Linked DNA regions of Homo sapiens: regions 1, 2, 3, 4 and 5 are each linked to region 6. Evidence: promoter capture Hi-C in human tissues and cell types (Jung and others, 2019). All regions are on one chromosome and are shown on one strand. The core of a region is centred on a gene start or on the middle of the fragment in contact, and the rest is flanking DNA. Distances in the headings are between cores, read along the strand shown. Region 1 overlaps RBM6 (RNA binding motif protein 6). Region 2 overlaps RBM5 (RNA binding motif protein 5). Region 3 overlaps APEH (acylaminoacyl-peptide hydrolase). Region 4 overlaps IP6K1 (inositol hexakisphosphate kinase 1). Region 5 overlaps IP6K1 (inositol hexakisphosphate kinase 1). Region 6 holds the start of MST1R (macrophage stimulating 1 receptor).

Region 1 (4,602 bases), core at 1,720-4,219, 140 kb after region 6:
TGGGATTACAGACGTGAGCCACTGCGCCCAGCTCAATTTTTATATTTTTGGTACAGACCAGGTTTCACTATATTGGCCAGGCTGTTCTCAAACTCCTGACCTCAGTTGATTCGCCCACCTCAGCTCCCAAAGTGCTGGGATTACAGGCATGAGCCACTGCGCCCAGCAGGGTCTCCCTTTTTAAACGTATTTTCTTTTTATAGCCTACAAACTACAAGAGATGCCTTTTAATAAACTGGATGGTATGTCTTAACGTCTGATGGAGTTTAAAGGCATCCAAGGGTTACGTCTGTGATAGATTGCCAAGGCATACAGGTCTGATCAGGAGAGTTTCTTGATGACTAGCTATGGGCTATGCCTTTGTAGCACATGATCCCAACTCCAGCAGGGATATAGTTAGTGACATGCTGGCTTTGTCTTCTCCCTAACTCCTGGATTACTACAAATTTCTTCTTCGTGCAGGAATCATTCCCTCACTCTATACATATCTGCTGTTAAAAAAAAAAAAGTTAAGATATTATAGCCATTATATTGTAGCAGCCATGATATTATAGCTCAGTAAATGCTGCTTTCCAAATATTGGCTAATTTAACCATAGCATGTCTTCAATGTTAGAAGCCAGCCCTCATTTTTATCAAGGGCTGAAGTTTGATAATTCTTTGTGTTATTTGCTTGTGAAAATAAGTAGAACAAAAAGGATTAGGGACCTAACCTTGTATCCCATGTATCCCAGTGAACCTTTTCTGACTTAAAGCTTCCTTTCTTTTTTTTTGGAGATGGGAGTCTTGCTCTGTCGCGAGGCTAGAGTGCAGTGGCGCGATCTTGGCTCACTGCAGCCTCCGCCTCCTGGGTTCAAGTGATTCTCCTGCCTCAGCCTCCCAAGTAATTGGGACTACAGGCTCATGCCACCATGCCCAGCTAATTTTTTTTTTAATTTTTAGTAGAGACGGGGCTTCACCATGTTGGCCAGTATGGTCTCGATCTCTTGACCTCGTGATCCATCCACCTTGGCCTCCCAAAAAGCTTCCATTCTTAGTCTTGGTACTTCTAAGTGGCATTGGGTCAATAGCTTTCTGCCTAAGAAGAGAATTGGCTGGGCATGATGGCTAACACCTGTAATTCCAGCCCTTTGGGAGGCTGTGGCAGGAGGATCATTTGAGCCCAGGAGTTCAAGACCAGCCGGGGCATCATAGGAAGACCCCATGTCTGCATAAAATAAAATAAATTAGCCAGACTTGGTGACATGCACGTATTGTCCCAGCTTGTCAGGAAGCTGAGGTGGGATGATTGCTTGAGCTCAGGAGATCAAGGCTACAATGAGCTATGATCATACAACACCAGTGCACTCTAGCCTGAGTGACAGAGCAAGACCCTGTCTCAAAAAAAGCAGGGGGGCATAGTCACCTCCCTAAAATATTAGTTGAACAGTATGTATTCAGAAGTCCAGAGGCTCTGTATTTTATTAATATTTTCAAGGCACTATTTCTGCAGAAATCAAGTCAGCAAGACTCTTTGAGGACGTTACAGGCAGAGGGGCTAAAGATACCTTTGAGGAAGCTCAAGTACTTGGGTGGGAGGTGATAGATAAAGGGTCAGTAGAAATAATGTCTCTTTTTATTTTTTTTCCCATTAAAAAATTTTGTTTTAATAGCAATGGAGATGGGGTCTCACTGTGTTCCCTGAGCTGGTCTGGTCTCGAGCTCCTGGGTTCAAGCAGTTCTCCCACCTTGACCTTCTAAAGTGTAGGGATTATAGACATGAGCCACCATGCGTGGCAAATTTCTTTTCTTTCCTTTTTTTTTTTTTTTTTTTGAGACAGAGTTTTGCTCTTGTTGCCCAGGCTGGAGTGTGGTGGCACGATCTTGGTTCACTGCACCCTCCACCTCCCAGGTTCAGGTGATTCTCTTGCCTCAGCCTCCTGAGTAGCTGGGATTACAGGCGCCCGCCACCATGCCCGGGTAATTTTTGTATTTTTAGTAGAGATGGGATTTCACCATGTTGGCCAGGCTGGTCTTGAACTCCTGACCTCAGGTGATCCACCCGCCTCAGCCTCCCAAAGTGCTGGGATTACAGGTGTGAGCCACCGCTGCCGGTTCCAATGTCTCTTTTGGATGGTGGATCCTGAAGAATAGCTGCTGGTTCTTTGGGGATGCCTGGGGAATACTGTGCAGGCTTTGTGATGGGCTCAGCAGTGAGGCCTGTACAGTATCTTAGGTCTTGTGGGCCTCAGTCTGCTCTCTTGGCTGTTCTCTACCACCTCCTGCCATTAAGTTTTTAAGAAAAAGGAATAGTTTTATTATATTCTTTGGTAAACAAAGCAAATTAAGAAGCTTTATATTTTCCACATTTATTTACCAAACTCCCTATTTGTTTTTCTCTATAGTGATTCAGTTTAGAGACCTATTCAATGAAGCATGCCTTGATGTTGAATTTAGAGTCTACTTTTTCCAGAAGAAAAGAGCCAGGGAGCTCCAATAGTAGTCATCTCAGAATATAAAAGTGTTATAGAAATGATGTAAATCAGGCCGGGTACAGGGGCTCACGCCTGTAATCCCAGCACTTTGGGAGGCCGAGGCGGGCGGATCATGAGGTCCGGAGATCGAGAACATCCTGGCTAACAGGGTGAAACCCCGTCTCTACTAAAAATACAAAAAAAATCAGCCAGGTGTGGTGGCCGGCACCTGTAGTCCCAACTACTCAGGAGGCTGAGACAGGAGAATGGCGTGAACCCAGGAGGAAGAGCTTGCAGTGAGCCGAGATCGCGCCACTGCACTCCAGCCTAGGCAACAGAGCAAGACTCCGTCCCCAAAAAAAGAAGAAAAAGAAGAAAAGAAATGATGTAAATCAGCTGCCCTTCACTCTGTGTTGAGGTGGGGGATGTCCCTAATTGCAGTAGGAGAGAGCCTCTCTTTTATCTGGGACTAAAAGCCCTTGCCCTACATACCTCATAATTATTTTAGGGTTAACTGATTCAATTGTCAGAAAAGAACAAGCTGTATCTTGTTTCTGTACATATTCTACTTTGTGAGTATTTTTATTTCATTGCTATGTGATTGGAATCAACTCAGGAAAGAGGAAAAAAATAAGATAGAGGTTATAGAATTCTGAATTCTGAAGGGAATTCTGAGAATTATCAGTAAAATATGTCAAAATGTGATATTTTACTTCCACCAAGAATTAGGCCATATCTTTGTGTGAAAATAAATTATTATTATTTATTTATTTATTTTGAGATGGAGTCTCGCTCTTTTCACCCAGGCTGGAGTGCAATCACACAATCTCGGCTCGCTGCAACCTCCACCTCCCAGGTTCAAGCGATGCTCCTGCCTCAGCCTCCCGAGTAGCTGGGATTAGAAGCGCCCATTACCACACCCAGCTAATTTTGTACTTGTAGTAGAGACAGGGTTTCACCATGTTGGCCAGGCTGGTCTCGAACTCCTGACCTCAGGTGATCCACCCCCCCCCCCCCCACCCTTGGTCTCCCAAAGTGCTGGGATTACAGGCATGGGCCACCGCACCCAGCATACGGAAATAAATTATTAACCAGAGAAATTTTGACTAAGGTTTTTATAAATGTTAGGTGAACCATTGCTCTAAAAGATACAAAATTATAACAAGCTGAAAAGTTTTTTAAAAATCTGCATTTTAGTGGTTCAGTTTTTCAGTTGTTCTGAGTGCTAATAGTTGGAGTTTATAAATTGTAAGAAGCAATCTACGGAGATTCTGTGATGAAGGAATTTGTTGAATGCCCTGTCTGCCTCACAGTCTCAGTCTTTATGATAGAGTCTTGTCTTCTCACAAGGAGAGAAAAGATTTGAGGCTCTTTTGATTACTTACTTACTTGCTTATTTATATATTTTGCCTCTTTGTTTTTGCCGCAAATACAAATGTAATGGAACCTTAGAATAGGAGAGACGTGTGGATCCCCTGGTAGGCACTGTTCTTTCTATGTTCCTGGAGCCAAGTTCATGGAATTACCTCCAAGACTACGGATCCCTGGTTTTCTTTCATCATGATAGGAGGCATTTTCTAGAACCTGAATCTTACTTTAAAATGCATGTAAGACCTGCAAGGAGTGGTAGTGAAGTGGGTGGAATATATTCTTAGCACCAGACACCTTTAAAATATTTAAGTTCTCGGCCGGGTGCCCTGGCTCACGCCTGTAATCCCAACACTTTGGGAGGCCGAGGTGGGCAGCTCACGAGGTCAGGAGACCGAGACCATCCTGGCTAACACGGTGAAACCCCATCTCTACTAAAAATACAAAAAATTAGCCAGGCGTGGTGATGGGTGCCTGTAGTCCCAGCTACTCGGGAGGCTGAGGCAGGAAAATTGCATGAACCCGGGAGGCAGAGCTTGCAGTGAGCTGAGATCGCACCACTGCACTCCAGCCTGGGTGACAGAGCAAGGCTCCTTCTCAAAAAAAAAAAAAAAAAAAAAAAAAAATATATATATATATATATATATACACACACACACACACACACACACGTGTGTATATATATACACACACACATGCATATATATATACACACACATGTATATCTATAGATATATACATATATATGTGTATATTTACATTTTCTTATGTCAGGGTCTGGC
Region 2 (4,024 bases), core at 952-3,451, 200 kb after region 6:
AACACAAGTATCCCGTCTATATCTGAATGCTGTCTCTAGGTGTAAGCCGTGGTTTCGCCTTCGTGGAGTTTTATCACTTGCAAGATGCTACCAGCTGGATGGAAGCCAATCAGGTTGCTTCACTCACCAAGTCTAGATATTCATGAAAATGGAACAAGTCTGTACAATTTTAAAAAAAGGTTGAAGGAGTGGTTTGTTCCAAAGGAGTGACTTTTTTTTAAAAAAAAAGCTTTGTATATATTAAAATTGATGTTACTAGAATAAGTACAGTACCAAGGACTTCATTATAGAATTTGTTCTGCCTTTAAACATGGCTACCTACCTGGCAGGGCTTTGTTAACTACTGAATACCTGTCTGGTAATCACTAAAACATCTTAATGTTTCCCTTTTTTCTAGTTTGTTATATTCCTATTATGTCCATTGAGAGTAAGCTTAGTATATCAAACTCTCCATTTGACAGTGAAGAGAACATAGTGAAAGTCTGTGGCGGCATTTTTATAAGTAATTCCTTATTTCTGCCTGAAGACCACAAAGCCTCCTGGAGGCGTAACTGCTCAGACCGGTCTTCAGGGAATATTTAAGGACTTAGTGGAATTTATGAACAATAAGTCTGATGAGATTAGCCTGGGAGTGGTGTCCTGCAGCTGTCTAATCTAGTTAGAGTGGCATTAACATTCTAATCTCCTTGAGAATGCCTTTTATAGTCTGTTCAAAGCAAGTCATTGATGGTTCTTCGAGGTAGTGTTAACTGAAGTGTTCTTCAGTTTGTCAAGATAATGTTCAGTGCTTGGCACTTAAATAACATTTTTTGCAAGAACTCCAAGGCACATTATTGAATGCCTTTAACCAAGTGCATTCTGGGAAGTTTGCTTGACTCATTATCTTGCTTTTCTGCAGCATTCTGTGATTTGAGTCATCCATGAATCCATGAATAAAAGTTACATTCTTTGATTGGTAATATTGCCATTTATAACAAGACTCACTAATGAGGGTATCACTTTGACTGACTGATTTGTTAAAGTTTTTAAGCCTCTCATTTTCCTAACCCAGAAATCACAGCCTGATTTTATTAAAAGTAGAGCTTCATTCATTTCATACCATAGATACCATCCTAGTAAATCCAGAACATATACAAGGTTCATGTGAGTCTGCTTTCTTGACATGATAGCATTGTTTGATGCAGTGGATATGTCAGAATGACTAACCTAGGAGTTTAAAACTCCTAAGAAACTAAAACCTGTAAGACATTTAAAAGTCTCCACAATTTTAATGTATACAAAGCTATGTTACTGTGTAACACATTACAGTTCAAATTCACTCCAGAAATAAAAGGCCAGTAGGATTAGGGACTCACTGGTAGTTTGGAGTCTCCCAGCACACATCCCTCCTAGTGGGATGATCTATTCACATATCTCCCAGCTTTTTTATTTTTGCTTCTGTATATCACAGTGAGTGGATGGCCCTTCAGCTTTTTCTCTCCTGGCCAGACATGCAGTCTTGCCTTTAGATATCGCAGAGACAAAATTCACAGCATGTCTTAAATCTTCCAGGATTTGCAAGAACCAAATTGCTCAACAGTATGTATGTTTAGAGGGGTTAGACTCCTTTTTAAAATCTGGATATCTAACCACCTACTTAAATCTGTTTGATAGTGTCAAACCACCCCCACCCTTGATCCTCCCACCCCCAAGAAAAAGAAAAGATGCTCCTGTTAAATGAAGGCTCTTTAGGGGTAGGTGCTAGGTATACTCTTGGCTAGATTGATTCAGCTCAGAATTTTGACTTTTTAAAGCTAAGTCCTTGTAGTCACATGGTTGACTTGAAGGATGAGGTGGTGTGTGCATTTATGAGCTTTTCCTACCCCCCTGAAGAAACTTCATTGGCCTCCTGGTTACTCACCTTGAAGAGAGTACCATCCATTTTAGTGAAAAACACATCTGTCACCTAGGACATGACATGGTTGCAGTTGACAGGAAAAAAAAAATCTCATTTAGTTGTTTTAGAGTTGGTGGCATTCAGAATAGTCCCTCTTGAGAAAGAATTGTAACCAGATTCCCTTTAAAAATGAGTTCCCCTCCCTTTCCCCCCAAAGGACTCATCCTGAAGCAGAAGGTGTGGGGGGAAGGAGAAATGTAAAGGCTTTTACTTTGCATAAGGATGGGGGACTGGGGAAAAAGGTGAAGCGAAGCCCAAGGACACCATGCTAAGGGCAAAAGTAAGAGACAGTCTCAGAACTGAGAGAATTGTGTCTTCTGCTTTTTGAAGTAGACTGTCACACTCAGGCAGCCTGTCAATGCTGAATGTTAGGACTTCTGTCTCCGCTGGAGACACGGCCTGGTGCAAGTCAGCGTTTAGTGTTTGACAGCTTTCTCAGCACTCCCTGACTCCGTTTACCTTTACTCCGCATCCCATTCTCTTACTGCCTATCTGAAGGATTGGATGGGCAGAGTATAGGTGGCGGTGGTTGGTCCTCCCCGTATGTTGTCCATTTAATTCCAGAGCACTGATTTTTCCGAAGTGTGCTCTGCCCTGGGAAAATGGACACATGTTCCTCACAATGGGAATAACTAATTACTTCTTTTCTTACAGAAAAAGTTGGTGATTCAAGGAAAGCACATTGCAATGCATTATAGCAATCCCAGACCTAAGTTTGAAGATTGGCTTTGTAACAAGGTAAGCATATGTTCTTCCCAAATAGACAAAACTCCTTTAGGATATTGCTGTTTTTTTCTGTTTGTTTATTTGACTGTCCAAACAAGGAAATTGTTACTCAATCATCAGTAATATTCATGGTTTGTTACTTTCCTTGGGTCCTCCTACACTGGTATTAGATGATAGAACTAGAGGTTTCGTTTATTAAGATGCACGTTCTGCTGGGCATGGTGGCTCACGCCTGTAATCCCAGCACTTTGGGAGGCCAAGGCGGGTAGATAGCTTGAGGCCAGGGGTTAGAGACCAGCCTGGCCAACATGGCAAAACCCCGTCTCTACTAAAAATACAAAAATTAGCTGGGCATCACGGTGCGCGCCTGTAATCCCAGCTACTCGGAGGTTGAGGCAGGAAAATCTCTTGAACACGGGAGGCAGAGGTTGCAATGAGCCAAGATCGCGCCACTGCACTCTAGCCTGGGTGACAGAGTGAGACTCTGTCTCAAAAAACAAAAAAGGACAACAAAAAGGATGCAGGTTCTAAGCCCAGTGATTAAGATTTTAGGTGTGTTTCATGTTACTGTTTATTGAATTCTAGAGCTCTCAGTTTTTGGCGTAGTCTCTTAACTGTATTAACCAAAATAGTTGAGAACCCTGCTAAAGTTATATAAGGTTTACCATTTTGAACTTGAATGTTGACATTGATATTTTGAGAGTGCTCAAACTGTGTCCCCTGTCCAGTAGGGGACTAGACAGTGGTTAGTTTACCTTGTGTTTGTGTATGTAGGATGGGATGTATAGTGCTCTGTTGATACAAGGAAGAGCTTCACCAGTGGCTTGCTGTAGAGTTTTCAAATTAACTGAACCCTTTCCTCGGCTTGATAATAATGGGATTCTTCTTCAACATACAACAAACTTTGTTTTTCTTGGGAGATTTTAACAGTGTTACATTCTGAATTTTTTAGGTTATGTCCCCATGTCTCAGCTACGTGAGACTTTCTGCTTTTCTGTTAGTTACTGGGACCTACCCGTGGCCCCACTGTTATTGTTACTAGAAAGCCTGGCCTAATGTGAGAAATAATTACAGATAAAACTTTTTTTTTCAGTGCTGCCTTAACAATTTCAGGAAAAGACTAAAATGCTTCCGATGTGGAGCAGACAAGTTTGGTAAGACTGGATTCAGCTGTTTGCAATATGCATTAAAACCTACTAACTGGGGCAGGGAGCAGTGGCTCACTGTAATCCCACCACTTTGCAAGGCCAAGGTGGGAAGATCACTTGAGGACAGGAGTTCAATACCAGCCTGGCAAGAGATAGCAAGACCCTGCCTGTACAAAAAAAGAAATTTTAAATTATCTGGGTGTGGTGGCACACA
Region 3 (4,168 bases), core at 1,344-3,843, 220 kb before region 6:
GACCTCTAAGAGGTTTTCTGTTCCTCTTGTGGATGGGCATGGGAAGTAGCATCTAGACATCTGAGCGCCTGCTCTGGATATCACCTGGGCTTCACCAGGCCAAATCATCTGTGGTTGGAAGACCCAGGTCCAAAGAAAATAGGCCTCATACAAGCCTCAGTGACCACACCTCATCCCGAATGCTGTTGCTGCAGGATGGGGTTCCCTGACGAGGGCAGAAGAAGTATGAGCCTTCTGGGGTCCATGTGTCATGGTGTGGACTACCTTGGCCAGGTCTCTGACCCAGAGGTCAGCCCCACACCTGCAGCTAGAGATGGGGCCTTAGTTGGGGAAGCCCCTAGGCTCACCCTGCTGACTGCTGCCCTCTCCCTGCAGCTGGCCTTGACTTTGAAGCAATCCTGCTGCAGCCTGGCAGCCCTCCAGATAAGACCCAAGTGCCCATGGTGGTCATGCCCCACGGTAGGCATCTGGCGTTAAGAGCCCTTGCCCTCCCAGCCCTCTTCCTAGCTGGCCCTTTCACCCTCCGCTCCCTGTCTGCAGGGGGGCCCCATTCATCCTTTGTCACTGCCTGGATGCTGTTCCCAGCCATGCTTTGCAAGATGGGCTTTGCGGTACTACTAGGTGAGTGAGCAGGGACCCACAGTTCTGTTAGGACTACAGTGGAGTGACGGGGGTGGACCTGGTTTGTATAAGTACCATGGGTGCCACTCTAGTCTCCAGGACTTTCTCTAGCCTAGACCTAGTAACCACTACCAGGAACTGCTGGGGCCCAGCCTCTGGTTCTGTGGCATAGTGATAACAAGGACTAACTCGGGACTTCCAAGGAAAGGGCGCTGTGGTCACTGGGTGGCAGCCTCAAATCTCTGAGTCCCTTCCCCTTGACCCCTTGACAGTCTGTGGTATAGCTGGCCCCAGGGCCTACTTCACAGATGTGTGAAAAGAGCGTCGAGGGGGCTGGGAATGTTGCCTGACTACACTGTCTGGTCCCTCCCTGCCCTCAGTGAACTATCGTGGCTCCACGGGCTTTGGCCAGGACAGCATCCTCTCCCTCCCAGGCAATGTGGGCCACCAGGATGTGAAGGATGTCCAGGTAGCAGGGGCTGGGGCTTCTGGACAGGCTGAAACATGGGCTGCCAGGGGGATGCCTCCATTCAGCTGAGCGGGCAGCTGGCTGCAGCATGCTTTGTCCCACCCTGCAGTTTGCAGTGGAACAGGTGCTCCAGGAGGAACACTTTGATGCAAGCCATGTGGCCCTTATGGGTGGTTCCCATGGTGGCTTCATTTCCTGCCACTTGATTGGTCAGTACCCAGAGACCTACAGGGCCTGCGTGGCCCGGAACCCCGTGATCAACATCGCCTCCATGTTGGGCTCCACTGACATCCCTGACTGGTAGGCATACACCACAGGTCCCTGCCCTTCCCTCCTCTACCTCAAATTCTCATGGAGCCCCGTAGCCCCAGAATTCCTGGGGCTGCAACAGCTCGGTGTCTTGCAGGTGCGTGGTGGAGGCTGGCTTTCCTTTCAGCAGTGACTGCCTGCCAGACCTCAGCGTGTGGGCTGAGATGCTGGACAAATCGCCCATCAGATACATCCCTCAGGTATGCAGCCCCCTCCTTGCCCTGTGTGCTGCCCATCCATCCAGAATCCAGGGCCCAGCTCAACACAGCTCCCCACTCTTCCCCAAACACCCAGGTGAAGACACCACTGTTACTGATGTTGGGCCAGGAGGACCGGCGTGTGCCCTTCAAGCAGGGCATGGAGTATTACCGTGCCCTCAAGACCCGGAATGTGCCTGTTCGGTGAGTGCAGCATGAAGGCCCTGGCAGCTGGTGGGCAGGTGAGCACAGGAGGACCCTCCAACCTTAAATGTTGCTGACTAATCCCTACAGGCTCCTGCTCTATCCCAAAAGCACCCACGCATTATCAGAGGTGGAGGTGGAGTCAGACAGCTTCATGAATGCTGTGCTCTGGCTACGCACACACTTGGGCAGCTGAAGCCCTGCCATTCTGCATGAGCTGATCAGCCTGTGCCACACTTCGCTCTTGAGGAGCTCAACGGTCTGGCAGGGCAGCAGGAGGCTTTCTGGGCTCTGGACTCCACGGATGCGTGGGCAGAGGAATGTGGGCTATGTAGTCATAATAAATTAGGACACAGAGCCTGGTTCCTGCTGGTACTTTGTACCAAACCATCCCCAACCCCACCTCCCACTCTGGGGTGCAGAGACCCTAGGTTCTGGGTGTGGCAGCCACAAGGGCTTCATCTGCCTCCAGTGTGAGAAGGGAGGGAACAGTGAGAGGCTTAGCCTCTGCCTGTCCTGGCAACCAGGACTCTGTACCAGCCTAGCTTCCCTGCTGCAGCCCCTTCCATTAGCAACTACTCTGTACCACCCTTCCCAAGAGTATGTCTGGAGGACTAGTGTGAGGCCCTGTCTTTCCACGGCACCCATGGGCAAAAGTAGTCCCAGGGACATTGCCTTGGTTGGGGAAGCCCCTAGGCTGGACAGATCACCTAGCCCAGGGTGTGCTGGGCTCAAGCCACCCGAGCCCTAGCAAGGAGTCACTGACACATTTCCTGGAAGCAAAGGCTAAGAAGCATCTGTACAGGCATAAAGAGGAAACATGGCTTTATGTCTGACAAGAAGTTTTGTCCTCCCCAAGGCATATGGCATCAAGGCTGGGCCTAACCCAGTCTCATGACCTTGTGAATCCAGTCCACAAACACAGAGACACGCGTGAAGACAGCTGGCCAGCGGGACCTTGCGCATACTCGGTTGGGGATTATAATTCCTTCCAGGACCCAGCAGTTGTGGGTAAAGCAGGCAAGTGGGCCCCCGTAGTCACCCTGGCAGGTAGGAGAACTGATGAGGGCCCCGGGCCACAGCAATGACTAGCCTGCTTCATGATAAAATAGTTCATTTCTAGCCCCCCATACCCTTCCAGGGCTGGCCCAGGGCCCTGCCACCAACCTCACAGGCCCCCACAGGGGCCAACAGTCCCTCAGTGCACATCTCACTCTCCCGCACACGTCCTCGGTGCTTGATGTTACACTCCTGGTTGGAGATGACATTCAGCAAGGCCACATTTAGGACTGTGTCATTACCCGTACCTGCAGTGAGGGGAATGGGGAGAGGGAGAGGGTCCTGCAGGAAGATCCAGGGCTGGGCCTCCTGGCCACCAGCAGTCCTGTGCACTGTGCTCTTACCTTTGGTCTCACCCCAGCCTGCAATCTCACACTTGGTCCCTGGAGGCACCACATACCATTCAGGGGGCAGGCAGATCAGGGCCACACGCTGGTTCAGGGTCACAGATCTTTAGCAAGAATGGGGGCACTCAGGGTCTGAGGCCACAAGGCCCAGCCCCACCTCACACCCTCCCAGGTTGTCCACATACCTCTCCAGCTTGAGCAGGACAAGCTGGGAGCCTGAGGGCCCACACACCATCTTGGCTACTGGGACCCGCTGTAGGCTTGGCTCTCCATGCTGTGGGTTCTGGAACAGGGTGCCCAACCATACCTCATAGCCCGTGAGAGGCATATGGCTGGGAGAGAAGCTCTGCTAGGTCATTTGTGACTCTCAGTCCATTGCCCCAAGGCTCACTTGTTAGCTTGCCTGGGGAAGGGGGAAGGTGGGATGAGACTGGGTCCCCAAACACAAGGGAGGCTCACCAGGAGGAGAAGCACTGCCGGGCAGTCAGTATCCACTGCTCCTTCACTAGAGACCCCCCGCAGAAATGCTGGCCCTGCCTAGAGGAGTGGGGAATTAGGACAGGTAACAGACTCCTGGGACAGATGCTAGACCTGCCATCTTCTGGCTAGGACCTCTGGGGGCAGGGATAGATTCCCAGCCCCCAGTGGGATAACCACAGAGGACACAACCTCAGCTCCTCTCTGTGGGAGACAGGCAGTTGTGCCTCACCGATTCCGCAAGCTGACTGTCCAGGGTGAGTTGCCCGGATGGCCCCCAACCACGCGCAGCTTGGAACGCCGCTGATCCAGCCGATCCACCCTCTTGCCACACTTCTCAAACTGCACCTGGTCTGTAGGATGGGGTGGGCTGGATGAAACCCAGACTGTGTGGATGTCGTGGGCTAAAGGGCCTGACCCATAACTGGCCCAACTCCTAACCTGGGGGGTCCAGGATTGATGGCGGCTGGTCATCAGCTGAAAGA
Region 4 (4,219 bases), core at 1,511-4,010, 140 kb before region 6:
TGAGACCAGGAGTTCAAGACCAGACTGGGCAACACAGCGAAACCCCATATCTAAAAAAAAAACACACAAAGCCAGGCGCGGTGGCTCACGCCTGTAATCCCAATACTTTGTGAGGCCGAAGCGGGCAGATGACGAGGTCAGGAGATCAAGACCATCCTGGCTAACATGGTGAAAGCCCGTCTCTACTAAAAATACAAAAAATTAGCCAGGTGTGGTGGCGGGCGCCTGTAGTCCCAGCTACTTGGAAGGCTGAGGCAGGAGAATGGTGTCAATCCGGGAGGCGGAGCTTGCCGTGAGCCGAGATTGCACCACTGCACTCCAGCTTGGGCTTCAGAGCAAGACTCCATCTCAAAAAAACAAAAACAAAAACAAAAACAAAAAGCACAAAAATTCGCTGGGTGTGGTGGCAGATGCCTGTAGTCCCAGCATCTCGGGAGTCTGGCTGAGGTGGGAGAATCACTTGAGCCCAAGAGATCAAGTCTGCAGTGAGCCAAGATCGCGCCACTGCACTCCAGCCTGGGTGACAAGAGCGAAACTCTGTCTAAAAAAAAAGAAACGCCAGGCGCTGTGGCTCACAACTGTAATCCCAGCACTTTGGGAGGCCAAGGCAGGTGGCTCACTTGAGGTCAGGAGTTCGAGACCAGCCTGGCCAACCTGGTGAAACTCTGTCTCTACTAAAAATTAAAACATCAGTTGGGTGTGGTGGTGGGCACCTGTAATCCCAGCTACTCAGGAGGCTGAGGCAGGAGAATCACTTGAACCCGGGACGCAGAGGTTGCAGTGAGCCAAGATCGTGCCATTGCACTCCAGCCTGGGTGACAGAACGAGACCTCATCTTAAAAAAAAAAAAGAAAGAAATCAGCCAGGTACAGTGGCTCACACCTGTAATCCCAGCACTTTGGGAGGCTGAGGCGAGCAGATCACTAGGTCAGGAGTTTGAGACCAGCCTGACCAACATGGCAAAACCCCGTCTCTACTAAAAATACAAAAATTAGCGGGCATGGTGGTGGGCATCTGTAATCCCAGCTACTCGGAAGGCTAAGGCAGGAGAATCACTTGAACCCTGGAGGCAGAGGTTGCAGCGAGCGTGCCACTGCACTCCAGCCGGGGTGACAAGAGCAAGACTCCGTCTCAAAAAAAAAAAAAAAAAAAAAAAAAAAAAGAAAGAAATCCAAGGGCCTGAAATCCTACAGTTTTGGGAAGCCATGGCAGGAGGATTGCTTAAGCTCAGTTTGAGACCAGCCTGGGCAACTTAACAAGATCCCATCTCCACAAAATTTTTTTTTTTATTTTTAAAAAATCAGCTGAGTTGCACTGGCTCATACCAGTAGTCTCGGCTACTTGGAAGGCTGAGGCAGGCAGGCAGTCACTCAAGCCCAGGAGTTTGAGGCTGCAGTGAGCTACATTCATATCACTCATTCCAGCCTGGGTGACAGGATGAGACCCTATCTCTTAAAAAATAATAATAATTGGCCAGGCGCGGTGGCTCACGCCTGTAATCCCAACACTTTGGGAGGCCGAGGTGGGCAGATCACCTGAGGTCAGGGGTTCAAGACAAGCCTGGCTAACATGGTGAAACCCCATCTCTACTAAAAATACAAAAAAGTAGCCAGTTGTGGTGGCACGTGCCTGTAATCCCAGGTACTCGGGGGGCTAAAACAGGAGAATCACTTGAACCGGGAGGCGGAAACTGTGGTGAGCAGAGATCACGCCACTGCACTCCAGGCTAGGTGACAGAGTGAGACTCCATCTCAAAAAATAATAATAATAATAACAACAACTTAAAAAAATAAAATTAGTCTGGGTACAGTGGCTCATACCTGTAATCTCAACACTTTGGGAGGCTGATGCAGGTGGATCACTTAAGCCCAAGAGTTTGAGACCACCCTGAGCAATATAGTGAGATCCCATCTCTATTCTAAAAAACCGATTAATTAATTTAAAAAGAGTGAAAACATCACCCACAGAATAGCAGAAAATATCTGCAGATCATACATCTGATAAAGGATTAATACATGGAACATATAAAGTACTTGTATAACTCGACAACAACAAAAATAACCCAATTCATAAATGGGCAAAGGCCTTAGACATTTCTCTGAAGATTTACAAATGGCCAAAAAATATGCAAAAAGATGCTCAACTTCATTAGTCATTAGGGAAATGCAAATCAAAGCCACAATGAGAAACTACTTCACATCCAAGTTATAAAAAAAAAAAAAAAATAGAAAATAAGTGTTGGCAAGGATATGAAGAAATTGTAACACTTGTGCACTGCTGGTGAGAATGTAAAGAAGACAGTATGGCAATTCCTCAAAAAGTTAAACATAGAATTACCATATGATTCAACAATTCCACTTTTAGGTCTATACCCAAAAGAACTGAAAGGAGGAATCCAAAACAGATATTTATACACCAATGTTCACAGCATTATTCACAATAACCAAATGGTGTCTACGACCCATGTCCATCAACAGATAAATGGATAAAGATATGCGGTATATACATACAGTGAAATATTATTCAGCCTTAAAAAGGAATGAAATTCTGATGCATGTCACAACATGGATGAATCTTGAAAACATTTTGCTAAGTGAAATAAGCCAGGCACAAAAGGGAAAAAATTATATAATTATAATTCCACTTACATAAAATAAAACAGGGCTGGGCACAGTTGCTTAAGCCTGTAATTCCAGCATTTTGGGAGGCTGAGGCAGGTGGATCACTTGAGGTCAGGAGTTCGAGATCAACCTGGCCAACATGGTGAAACCCCATCTTTACCAAAAATACAAAAATTAGCCGGCCGTGGTGGCGGGCACCTGTAATCCCAGCTACTTGAGAGGCTGAGGCAGGAGAATCACTTAAACCTGGGAGGCGGAGGCTGCAGTGAGCCAAGACTGGGCCACTGCACTCCAGCCTCGGTGACAGAGTGAGACTGAGTCTCAAAAATAAAATAAAATAAAATAGGCGAATTCATTGAGACAAAAAGATTATTAAGAACGTACAAGGGGCTGGGGGAGGTGAGAATGGGGTGTTACTATATAATGGGGAGAGTTCCTATTTGGGATGATGAAAGTAGTTCTCAAAACATCATTGTGAATGTATTTAATGCCACTGCATCATACCCTTCAAAATAGTTAAAATTCTACATTTTCTCATGTATATTTACTACAATTTAAAAATTTCATTTACAATAGCATCAAAAAAATCAAATGTCTTGGGTCAAATTTAACAAAACGTGAAAGAATTCTACATTAAAAACAATGAAATAATGTAGCAAGATAGTAAAGAAGGCATAAATCAAGAAATATGCCTCACACAGCACATGGATTAGAAGGCTCAATATAGTTAAGATGTCAATTCTCCCCAAATGAATCTATAAATTCAGTGGAATCTCAACCATAATGGCAGGAGACTTTTTTACAGAAATTGACAAGCTAATTCTAAAATTTATATGGTAATAAAAAGAAACTGTAATATTCAAATAAATCTTGATAAACAATAAAGTTGGGTTATTTACACTGCCTCATGTCAAGACTTCCTATAAAGCTACAGTAGTGGGGTACTGGCATATGGATAAACAAATAGATCAATGGAACAGAACACAGATTTCACAAACAGGCCCATATCTACAGAGTCAATTGTTTTTGGGATTTTTGCCAGCGACAAATCAGGATATAACAGTCAATTGTTTTTCGACAAAAGTACCAAAGCAAACCAATGGGGAGAGAAAATTTTGGTAGTTTTAAACTATGTCAAATTTTTTTACATTCTTCCCTCTAAAAAGTGAAATCCTCCTCTCTCCTTGAGTACAGGCTAGACTTAGGGACTCATTCTAATGAAAAGAATATGGCAGAAGTGACAGTGTATGACTAGGTCATAAGAGGCTTCATGGTTTCTTCCTTACTTTGTCTTAGATCATTTCTGTAGGAGATAACTGCACGCCATGAGGAAACTCAAAGAGCCCTGTGTATAACTTGTTAGCTTTAAAGTAGGGAAAATTTAAAAACAAACAAACAAAAGCCCTGGGTAGAGATAAACAATATGGAACTGAGGCTTCCTGCAAAGAGCTTTATGAATAAGTCATCTTGAAAACAGATCCTCTAAGCCAAGCATGGTGGCTCAGGCCTATAATCCCAACACTTTGGGAGGCCAACAGGGAAAGATCACTTGAGCCCAGGAGTTCAAAACCAGCCTGGGCAACATCTCTACAAAACAT
Region 5 (4,218 bases), core at 1,412-3,911, 170 kb before region 6:
CCTGAGCCCAGGGGGCTGAGGATGCACTGAGCCATGATCATGCCACTACACTCCAGCCTGGGAAACAGATAGACCATGTCTTAAAAATAAATAAATAATAAAATAAAATAAATAAAACCACAAAGGAGTTTTTGTGAGAAAGCAACTTCAACTGAAAATACTGGAACTTTGCCAACAATTTCATTATGCCCCAACATAAAAATCTTTGCTTGAAGTAACCAACAATACTGTCTATCATACTGAAAGGCCAAGAAAACCAAACTACTGGTGAAGCCATGTGCCCTGCAAATTACAGAGCAAGCCTGCAGCTCAGAGCAGAGGTGGAACATTACCGTAATTTCTTTTTTTTTTTTTTTTTTTTTTTTGAGACAGAGTCTCGCTCTGTCGCCCAGCAACTTCAAATGCCACTCTCCTCTCCAGAACTGCAGGCCTCTCCTCTAACTGTGTGGCATAAGTCGCACAGATTCAAGCTAACACCAGGGCTGGTGTGTGCTGGAAATGCTAACCCTCTCCAAGGGTCAGCTGTGCAACACTGGTGAAGAGGTAGTGGCAGAGACCCCATTTCCACCTAACTGAAAGTAGAGGAGCCCACCAGTGCCTCTCGGAATGATAAAACCCTTACTTTCTTCTGTGAGAGCACTGCTGAGGCCATTCAAAGATGCCTTTTTTTGTGAAACCCTTTAGGAAACAGAAAGGTTGACTTATTTGCCATGTAAACCCAAAGAAGTTCTCTGCGTCTGGATGAAGCCCCCACGGTACTTGGTATCACACCTTTTGTGTTGCAGCCCTGGCTCTGTGAAGAAACAAGCCCCACCCCTGGAATGACGGTCTCTCTGCTAACAGGTCAGACAGAGGTTTGGTCAGTACAGGTAGAGCTGTCACCTTCAGGGCAGGACCTTGAACCTGGACACAGGCGGACAGTGATGTTATTCTAGGTGATGTTATTCTATACCTTTTCACCAGATGACTCATGAAGCAACCTCTGTACCTTTGGAGGACAATAAAAAAAGCCCACTCTAGACTGGGCGCAGTGGCTCATGCCTATAATCCTTACGCTTTGGGAGGCCAAGGTGGGAGGACTGCTTGAAGCCAGGAGTTTCAGACCACCCCGGGCAACAAAGTGAGACCCTATCTCTACAAAAAATTTAAAAATTAGCTGAATGCAGTGGTGTGCACCTGTAGTCCCAGCTACTTGGGAGGCTGAGGTGAGAGGGGATAGGAAGGCTTGAGCCCAGTATTCAAGGCTGCAGTGAGTCACTGATGGTGCCACTGCACTCTAGCCTGGGTGACAGAGCAAGACCTTGTCTCTAAAAAGAGTGGGGGGAAAAGCCCACCCTAAAGCGCTGTTCAGAGAGAACCATCAATTGTCAGCTACAGACTTGGGGAACATTCTTTGTCACCTGAACGACCAAGTTAGGTCCCACAGTCATTAGTCAAGAAGCAGCCTCTTGGGGAGTGAAGGGGAAGCACTAGAAGAAGTGCTTCTGTGGACTGGAAGCCATCTGTCCAAAGAACGTTTGACATTTGAAGACCCTGCTTACCAAGAAGTGGGTATGAAGCTCTCTCCTTGCATGAAAGATGCAGACTGGCCAAAGAGGATCTGCTGACTGAGGACATGGGAAATGACACATAACCCCACTCAGCCAGTGTCTCATGGGGTACTGTACTTGACATGGGCATGTCCTTGTTCACCAAACTGAGTGAGGAGAACTGGAATGTCCTAGGCCTTTACAAAGCTTCAGGGGCACAGGTATGTAGCATGTATTGGTGAACTGATCTGATATCACAGATGAACTATGTACTGTCTCATCTAAGGAAATTCCCAATTTCAGCTTCTAAGTCAAGTCACAAAAGCATCTTACTGAAACCTTTTTTTCTTGAGACAGAGTTTTCACTCTTGTTGCCCAGGCTGGAGTGCAATGGTGTAATCTCAGCTCACTGCAACCTCCACCTCCTGGGTTCAAGTGATTCTCCTGCCTCAGCCTCCCAAGTAGCTGGGATTACAGGCCCGCACCACCACACCTGGCTAATTTTTTGTATTTACTAGAGATGGAGTTTCACCATGTTGGTCAGGCTGGTCTCGAACTCCTGACCTCAGGTGATCCACCCGCCTCGGCCTCCCAAAGTGCTGGGATTACAGGCGTGAGACACCATGCCTGGCTCATAATTCTATTATTATTTTTTTATTTTTTACAATTCTGTGGTTTTTTAGTGAATTCACAAGATTGTAAAACATCACCACTACCTAATTTTCAGAACATTTCATGACCCCAAAATCAAAACCATCATCATTAGCAGTCACTCCCTATTTCCCACTACTTCCAGCTCCTAACTACTAACAGAAAGCAACCACTAACCTACCTTTTCTCTCTATAGATTTGCCTGATGTGAACACTTTACATAAATGGCATTGTACATATGTGGTCTTTTGTGTCTGGTTTCTTTCATTTAACATAATGTTTTCATGATTCATCCATGTTGTAGCATGTACCAGCACTCCATTCCTTTTTAGGGCTAACATTCCATTACATGGATATACCATATTTTGTTTATCCATTCACCAGTTGATGGACACTTGGGTTAGCCAGAAACTGGAAACAACCCTAATAGAAATAATTTTAAGAACATTTTTGTACAAATTTTGTGGGAATATATGTATTCAATTCTTTTGGGTATATACCTAGGAGTGGAATTACTGGTTTAACTTTTGGATTTAATTTTTTTTTTTTTTTTTTTGAGATGGAGTCTTGCTCTGTTGCCCAGGCTGAAGTGCAGTGGCATGATCTCGGCTCACTACAAGCTCCGCCTCCTGGGTTCACGCCATTCTCCTGCCTTAGCCTCCCGAGTAGCTGGGACTACAGGTGCCCACCACCATGCCCGGCTAATTTTTTTGTATTTTTAGTAGAGACAGGGTTTCACCGTGTTAGCCAGGATGGTCTCGATCTCCTGACCTCGTGATCTGCCTGCCTTGGCCTCCCAAAGTGCTGGGATTACAGGCATGAGCCACCAAGCCTGGCCTTTTTTTTTTTTTTTTTTTTTTAGAGATGGGGTCTCACTATGTTGCCCAAGCTGGTCTGAAACTCCTGGCCTCAAAGGATCCTCCCACCTCAGCCTCCTGAAGCATTAGGATTACAAGCGTGAGCCACAGCACTCAGCCTGGTTTAACTTTTTGAAGAACTGCTAAATTGTTTCCCAAGTGGCTGCACCACTTTACCTTCCTACCAGCAGTGTAGGAGGGTTCCATTTCTTCACATCTTGTCAACACTTTTATTGTCTGTCCTTTTGATTATACCCATCCTAGTGGGAGTTCATATTAATTCTTGCATGAAATTATCAAGACACATAATTTGAGGCTGGTACAGTGGCTCATGCCTATAATCCCAGCACTTTGGGAAGCCAAGGCAGGCGAATCGCCTGAGGTCAGGAGTTCGAGACCAGCCTAGCCAACATGGTGACACAACATCTCCACTAAAAATACAAAAATTAGCTGGGTGTGGTGGTGCACGCCTGTAATCCCAGCTACTTGGGAGGCAGAGGCAGGAGAATTGCTTGAACCCAGGAGGGAGAGGTTGCAGTGACGCAAGATGGCACCACTGCATTCCAGCCTAACAGCAAGACTCCATCTCAAAACAAACAAAAAAACATAATTTGAACTTACAAGAAAAATCAATTTCCAACACAACGGAAACTAAATTTTAGTTGCAGGGAAAGCGTTAATGACTGATATGATTCTCAGAGGTCTGACACAAAAACCATTAGGGAACTCCTGGTTGGACTCATAGCCCTTGGGCTTGGACATCCTGCAGGTCAGAAAGCATTTGGAGCCTCGCTACGAACTAATGTATTTCAACCTTCTGTCCTGTGGGTGGCAAGACATAATGAAAAGCCAGAGAACCTTTTGTCACCAGCACAGGGTGTCCCTGCTTCCAAACGGCTGAGAGAGCTTCACTTCCTCTCTCAACCAGCTACAGCTATACCCAGAAAGAGGCACCACTGGGGTGATGTGACACAGAGAAGAGGCTACACCTGTGTGGGTATCCCAAGAACACCAGTCATCTTATCCAACCTTGACTGTGAGCCCTGCTTCCCCATGATGTGTCAGGACTATGGAGACGTCTTGAGTGCTTGTACCAGCAGGACGAAACATGTACCTCTTACCTCTCAGAGGTCTCAAGGGACAGGCTGGCTTTCTCCTCCTTGTGGTCACTGCCACTGCCT
Region 6 (4,073 bases), core at 705-3,204:
GTGCGTGGTGGTGGTGGTGGTGGCGGGGGTGGGGGAGGGGAGGGGGGAGTGCTATTTTTCTGCGTGTGTCCCTGAGGATATGGGTGGTGGACAAGTAGGAGGGAATGCCCATCATTCTACCCAGCATTCAGGAGCTATGCTAACAGAGACACGGTTATGTAACCCTATCCTCACATAGCCAGGGAAACTACCTAAAAAACCAGAGGCCATGATGGGCAGGTAGGGGAAAGAGCAAGATGAGGCAGCCACAAGGGCCAGCCTGGGAGCTAAGCCTCCAGTGTAGCCTTTGTCTGGCTGGTTTCTCACACCACCCCAGCACTTAGGAACTGGGTGAGAGAGAATGCTTCTTTCCGCCTGCCCCCCCACCGCGCCCCCAGATCCCCTCAGTGATGGAAGGGAAGCAGCCTGTGTTCAGCCATGTGCATGCAGCTCACAAGTAAGGGCCCCTTCTTTCAGCTTACCGGGTTGGGGCAAAAACTGGGCGACTGGAAGAAGTCGAGGCCTCGCCGGAGGCCTGGATGGACTGGGGATTCACAACAGCGCTCCACACCCTCATCAATTAGTGTGTCCAGCAGGTCAATGGGGAAGGCACAGACGACAGAGTTGGGGCCCACGCCAGGACCACCATCCTTGCCAGTCACAAAGACCCCAAATAGTACTTCCTGGCCCTCGGCGATGCTCAGCTCAGTGGCAAGTTGGGCACCCACTGGAGCGGAGTGGGCCACCCGCAGCACAGGGTAGGGCTGTCCGCCTTCTGGGGCCCCCCGGCGCCTGCGTTTTGGAGCAAATCTGCAGTCGAGGACCAGCTCCCGATAGTCACCCAACTCTGGCTCAGTGGCGCTAAGCCGTGCCAGGCGTGTGTGCAGGGCACTAGGATCATCTGTCACGCTGGCCGGCTGTACAGTCAGGAAGTATACGAAGGCTCCCGTGTGGAAGCTGTGCACGTATTCAATACTGTAGGAGACAAGATGCTTGGGCAGCACTGACAACGCCACAAAGCCCGGTGCGAATCCCGAGGCGTCAGCCTTGAGACGCCTGATAGACACTGAGCGTGGGCTGAAGCTGGCAGCCACGGCTGCGTCCAGTGAGGATGCCACGTAGAAATAGGAGGCCTGGCCTTGCTCAACCACAGTTACACGGGTGCCCAATGGGCTGGCCACACAGTCGGGGCAGTCATCGGGCCGGTTATGGTGGGCTGAGAAGAGGCAGGCTGGCGCTGCCAGATGCACGGCTGTCCCTTGGGGCTCTAGGTCATGCAGGAAGCAGCGGCCCTGCAGGCTGGAGCCACAACTGACCAGCGCAGGCAGCGCGGGATCCAGCACCAGCACCTTTGTGTCTGTGTCACCGGGAGGGCCGTGGGGTCCTGGGCCACAGGCTGCACACGTCTGGCAGCCAGGGTCTCCAGCAGGGCCCGTGGCCAGGCTCTGGACAGACTTCAGGTCAGGCCCAAGCACATGCAGGCGATTGCGTATGGCTACAAACACAGCACTCTCATTTCTGTCGCCCTCGTAGGTCACCATGGCCTGTACCAGGCCTCCGGCGGAGAAGCTGGGCACCACGTACTTCACGTCAAAGTCGCGAGAGGCCGCGTAGGGGGTGCGCGGGCACTGCCAGTCCTCGCCCGCCGCGGGCTTGGCAGGCAACAGCAGCAGCAACAGGAAGGACTGAGGCAGCGGCGGGAGGAGCTCCATCGAGGCGAGCTGGGACCCTAGAGGATCCCTACCGGCCTGGGCCTGGACCTGGGCGTGGGCCTGGCTGGGGGCCCGACTCGAGGTCTGGACTGGGCCAAATTTAAGCAGCGGTCCCGACAGCCCCAAGATAGCGGACCCCCGCCCCAGGTTCCTGTGAAACCCAAATCCCTTCCCGGCCCTCGGGTCTGAGCACCTGACGCCTGCGGACGCACGACAGCAACGCCCCAGCCGCCTCACCTGCCGCCCCAGCCGCCGCTGTACACTGGCGCTTAGCGCTCAGCCGACCCGAGGGCGCCGGGCTGGGCGGGCGGAGTCGGGCCGTGGGGGCGGGGCCGCGAGGAAGGCTTGGCCTAGCCCAGGCCCTCCGCCCATCCGACTCTTCCGGCCCTTGGAGGCCTGGCTCCTGTACCTTCACCTGGCGTCTTGGCGCCTTTTTCTCAGCGGCCTGTGGGTGGATGTGCATGGTGTGGCCTGGAGAGAGGTGAGCCAGTCTGAGCCGTCCCATCCCATCCCCCCACTACCGACTGGTTCGCAGCGAGAAGGGGGGCAGGACACTGGGCTCTTTGCTTGCGGTGGAACTAGTTTGCACTTAGTAGCAACACCCTCAGTGGCTGGTGCCCAGAGGTGGCCTGGGGGCCCACCATGTGGAGAACAGAGACCAGGATTGTGTGGAAGACCAGAGGGGAGATGTGGGGCACTTACAAGAGATGTTATGGGGCGCCACCCTTTGTGGGAAAGGACTGTCCTTTTTTTTTTTTGAGAAGGAGTCTTGCTCTGTGGCCCAAGCTGGATTGCAGTGGCGCGATCTCGGCTCACTGCAAACTCCGCCTCCCAGGTTCAAGCGATTCTCCAGCCTCAACCTCCTCCTGTCTCAACCTCCTGAATAGCTGGGATTACAGGCGCGCACCACCACACCCGGCTAATTTTGTATTTTTAGTAGAGACAGGATTCACAGTGTTGGCCAGGCTGGTCTCAAACTCCTGACCTCAGGTGATCCGCCCGCCTCAGCCTCCCAAACTGTTGGGATTACAGGCGTAAGCCACCGCGCCCGGCCGGGACCATTCTTCCATGTGCTTCTCCTGAGCTATCAGCGACAAGATGGTGTCAGAGGAAGGTGTGTTATGCCCTGCTCTCCCAGGGCCATAAGGGTCTTAGGATGGGATCTGGCCTTGCTGACTGGACCTCAGAGTCAGAGAGGCACGTAAGTGGAGGCCCATACCTCCTCTGCAGCCTCAGTATATGGAAGCTGTATAATGGGGTCCACAGTATGGGCCTTGGGGACTCCCCCTTCCTTCCTGGCTCTACCCAGTGCCCCCCTGATATGGAGGAATCATGGGCTTTGGCTCTCAGGACACTTCCAACATGCTCTGTAGGCCTTGCTGGATCTTATTCTCTTCAATGAGAATGTAGTTCTGGGCTGGGCACCGTGGCTCATGCCTGTAATCCTAGCACTCCTTTGAGGGGCCAAGGCAGGAGGATTGCTTGAGGTTAGGAGTTCAAGACCAGCCTGGGCAACATAACAAAACTCAACAAAACAAAAAAACTGCTAAAAATGTTTTTAAAATAAAATATGTGACCGGGCGTGGTGGCTCACGCCTGTAATCCCAGCACTTTGGGAGGCCGAGGCGGGTGGATCGCTTGAGGTCAGGAGTTCAAGACCAACATGGTGAACAGACAGATCTGGCCAACATGGTGAAACTATCTCCACTAAAAACAAAAATTAGCCGGGCGTGGTGGTGGGTGCCTGTAATCCCAGCTACTAGGGAGGCTGAGGCAGGAGAATAGCTTGAATTTAGGGGGTGGAGGTTGCAGTGAGCTGAGATTGTGCCACTGCACTCCAGCCTGGGTGACAGAGCGAGACTCCATCTCCAAAAAAAGAAAAAGAAAACGTAGTTCCGACTAGGTGATTTCCCAGAGTTCTCTCTTCTGTTTATGAGGAGTGGGGGTGGGGGAGCCTAGTCCCACACTTGGATCTCAGCAGCTGCCCCTTGGTAACTGGTCCCCCAACACTAGACTGAGGCCCCTGGGGGACAACCTTAGCCTGACAGACCCCTCAGTTAGATAGGCCTGGACCCTAGAAGACAGGGAAGGTCCACAGGGTGGGTCTGGGCTGTGAACTATGGGCCCCAAGGCTGTAGATAAGGAGGCTGGGGGAGAGAGGAGCCCTCAGCCCAACAGGATTTAGCCTGGCTTGGGGAGCTATATCTCCTCACTCCCCTTTCAGTTCATACTTCTGTGCCTGCATCCCCTTCCTAACCTGACCTTTGTAAGTGCTGTTCCTCCTTCCAGGAGCACTCTTTCCCTTTTCTCCTTTTGCCACCTAAATGGCACCTCCTCCAGGAAGCCTTTTTGATCCAGACTTTGCCAGTCCCCTCTCCTGGG

What was found. Contacts are between HindIII fragments. The study calls those that stand out against the background at their distance.
Region 1: a contact is called between a fragment that was not itself captured here and the fragment with the promoter of MST1R in region 6, in 5 of the 25 tissues and cell types used here (IMR-90 fibroblasts, lymphoblastoid cells, mesendoderm cells and 2 more).
Region 2: a fragment that was not itself captured here is called in contact with the fragment with the promoter of MST1R in region 6 in 2 of the 25 tissues and cell types used here (dorsolateral prefrontal cortex and lymphoblastoid cells).
Region 3: a fragment that was not itself captured here is called in contact with the fragment with the promoter of MST1R in region 6 in 1 of the 25 tissues and cell types used here (mesendoderm cells).
Region 4: a contact is called between a fragment that was not itself captured here and the fragment with the promoter of MST1R in region 6, in 9 of the 25 tissues and cell types used here (IMR-90 fibroblasts, dorsolateral prefrontal cortex, liver and 6 more).
Region 5: a fragment that was not itself captured here is called in contact with the fragment with the promoter of MST1R in region 6 in 1 of the 25 tissues and cell types used here (dorsolateral prefrontal cortex).

Annotation. Positions count from the first base shown.
Region 1 is chr3:50,036,027-50,040,628 of GRCh38, forward strand. All of the region lies in intron 6 of RBM6 (RNA binding motif protein 6), which reads left to right. Among named protein-coding and RNA genes, the nearest start is that of RBM5, 51 kb to the right of the region's middle. The HindIII fragment of the contact is 5,977 bases long and covers 1-4,602 here.
Region 2 is chr3:50,100,493-50,104,516 of GRCh38, forward strand. RBM5 (RNA binding motif protein 5) reads left to right here. Exons shown (of 25, transcript NM_005778.4): 6 at 40-113; 7 at 2,591-2,674; 8 at 3,756-3,816. RBM5-AS1 (RBM5 antisense RNA 1) reads right to left here and starts at 496. Exons shown (of 1, transcript NR_045388.1): 1 at 1-496. RefSeq lists a silencer at 1-151. The HindIII fragment of the contact is 9,297 bases long and covers 1-4,024 here.
Region 3 is chr3:49,681,347-49,685,514 of GRCh38, forward strand. It overlaps APEH (acylaminoacyl-peptide hydrolase), which reads left to right. Exons shown (of 22, transcript NM_001640.4): 16 at 376-459; 17 at 541-621; 18 at 1,002-1,090; 19 at 1,200-1,390; 20 at 1,497-1,599; 21 at 1,694-1,800; 22 at 1,891-2,625. The coding sequence ends at 1,996. MST1 (macrophage stimulating 1) reads right to left here. Exons shown (of 18, transcript NM_020998.4): 12 at 4,125-4,160; 13 at 3,916-4,036; 14 at 3,666-3,743; 15 at 3,392-3,538; 16 at 3,204-3,310; 17 at 2,968-3,107; 18 at 2,601-2,843. The coding sequence ends at 2,682. Among named protein-coding and RNA genes, the nearest start is that of MST1, 6.0 kb to the right of the region's middle. The HindIII fragment of the contact is 6,358 bases long and covers 1-4,168 here.
Region 4 is chr3:49,765,826-49,770,044 of GRCh38, forward strand. The region is part of intron 1 of IP6K1 (inositol hexakisphosphate kinase 1); the gene reads right to left. Among named protein-coding and RNA genes, the nearest start is that of IP6K1, 19 kb to the right of the region's middle. The HindIII fragment of the contact is 9,567 bases long and covers 1-4,219 here.
Region 5 is chr3:49,734,054-49,738,271 of GRCh38, forward strand. IP6K1 (inositol hexakisphosphate kinase 1) reads right to left here. Exons shown (of 6, transcript NM_153273.4): 3 at 4,159-4,218. Among named protein-coding and RNA genes, the nearest start is that of GMPPB, 12 kb to the left of the region's middle. The HindIII fragment of the contact is 5,046 bases long and covers 139-4,218 here.
Region 6 is chr3:49,901,919-49,905,991 of GRCh38, forward strand. MST1R (macrophage stimulating 1 receptor) reads right to left here and starts at 1,955. Exons shown (of 20, transcript NM_002447.4): 1 at 462-1,955. The coding sequence starts at 1,691. RefSeq lists enhancers at 306-979, 980-1,653, 2,290-2,339, 2,328-3,000, 3,975-4,073 and a silencer at 1,880-2,099. The HindIII fragment of the contact is 20,801 bases long and covers 1-4,073 here.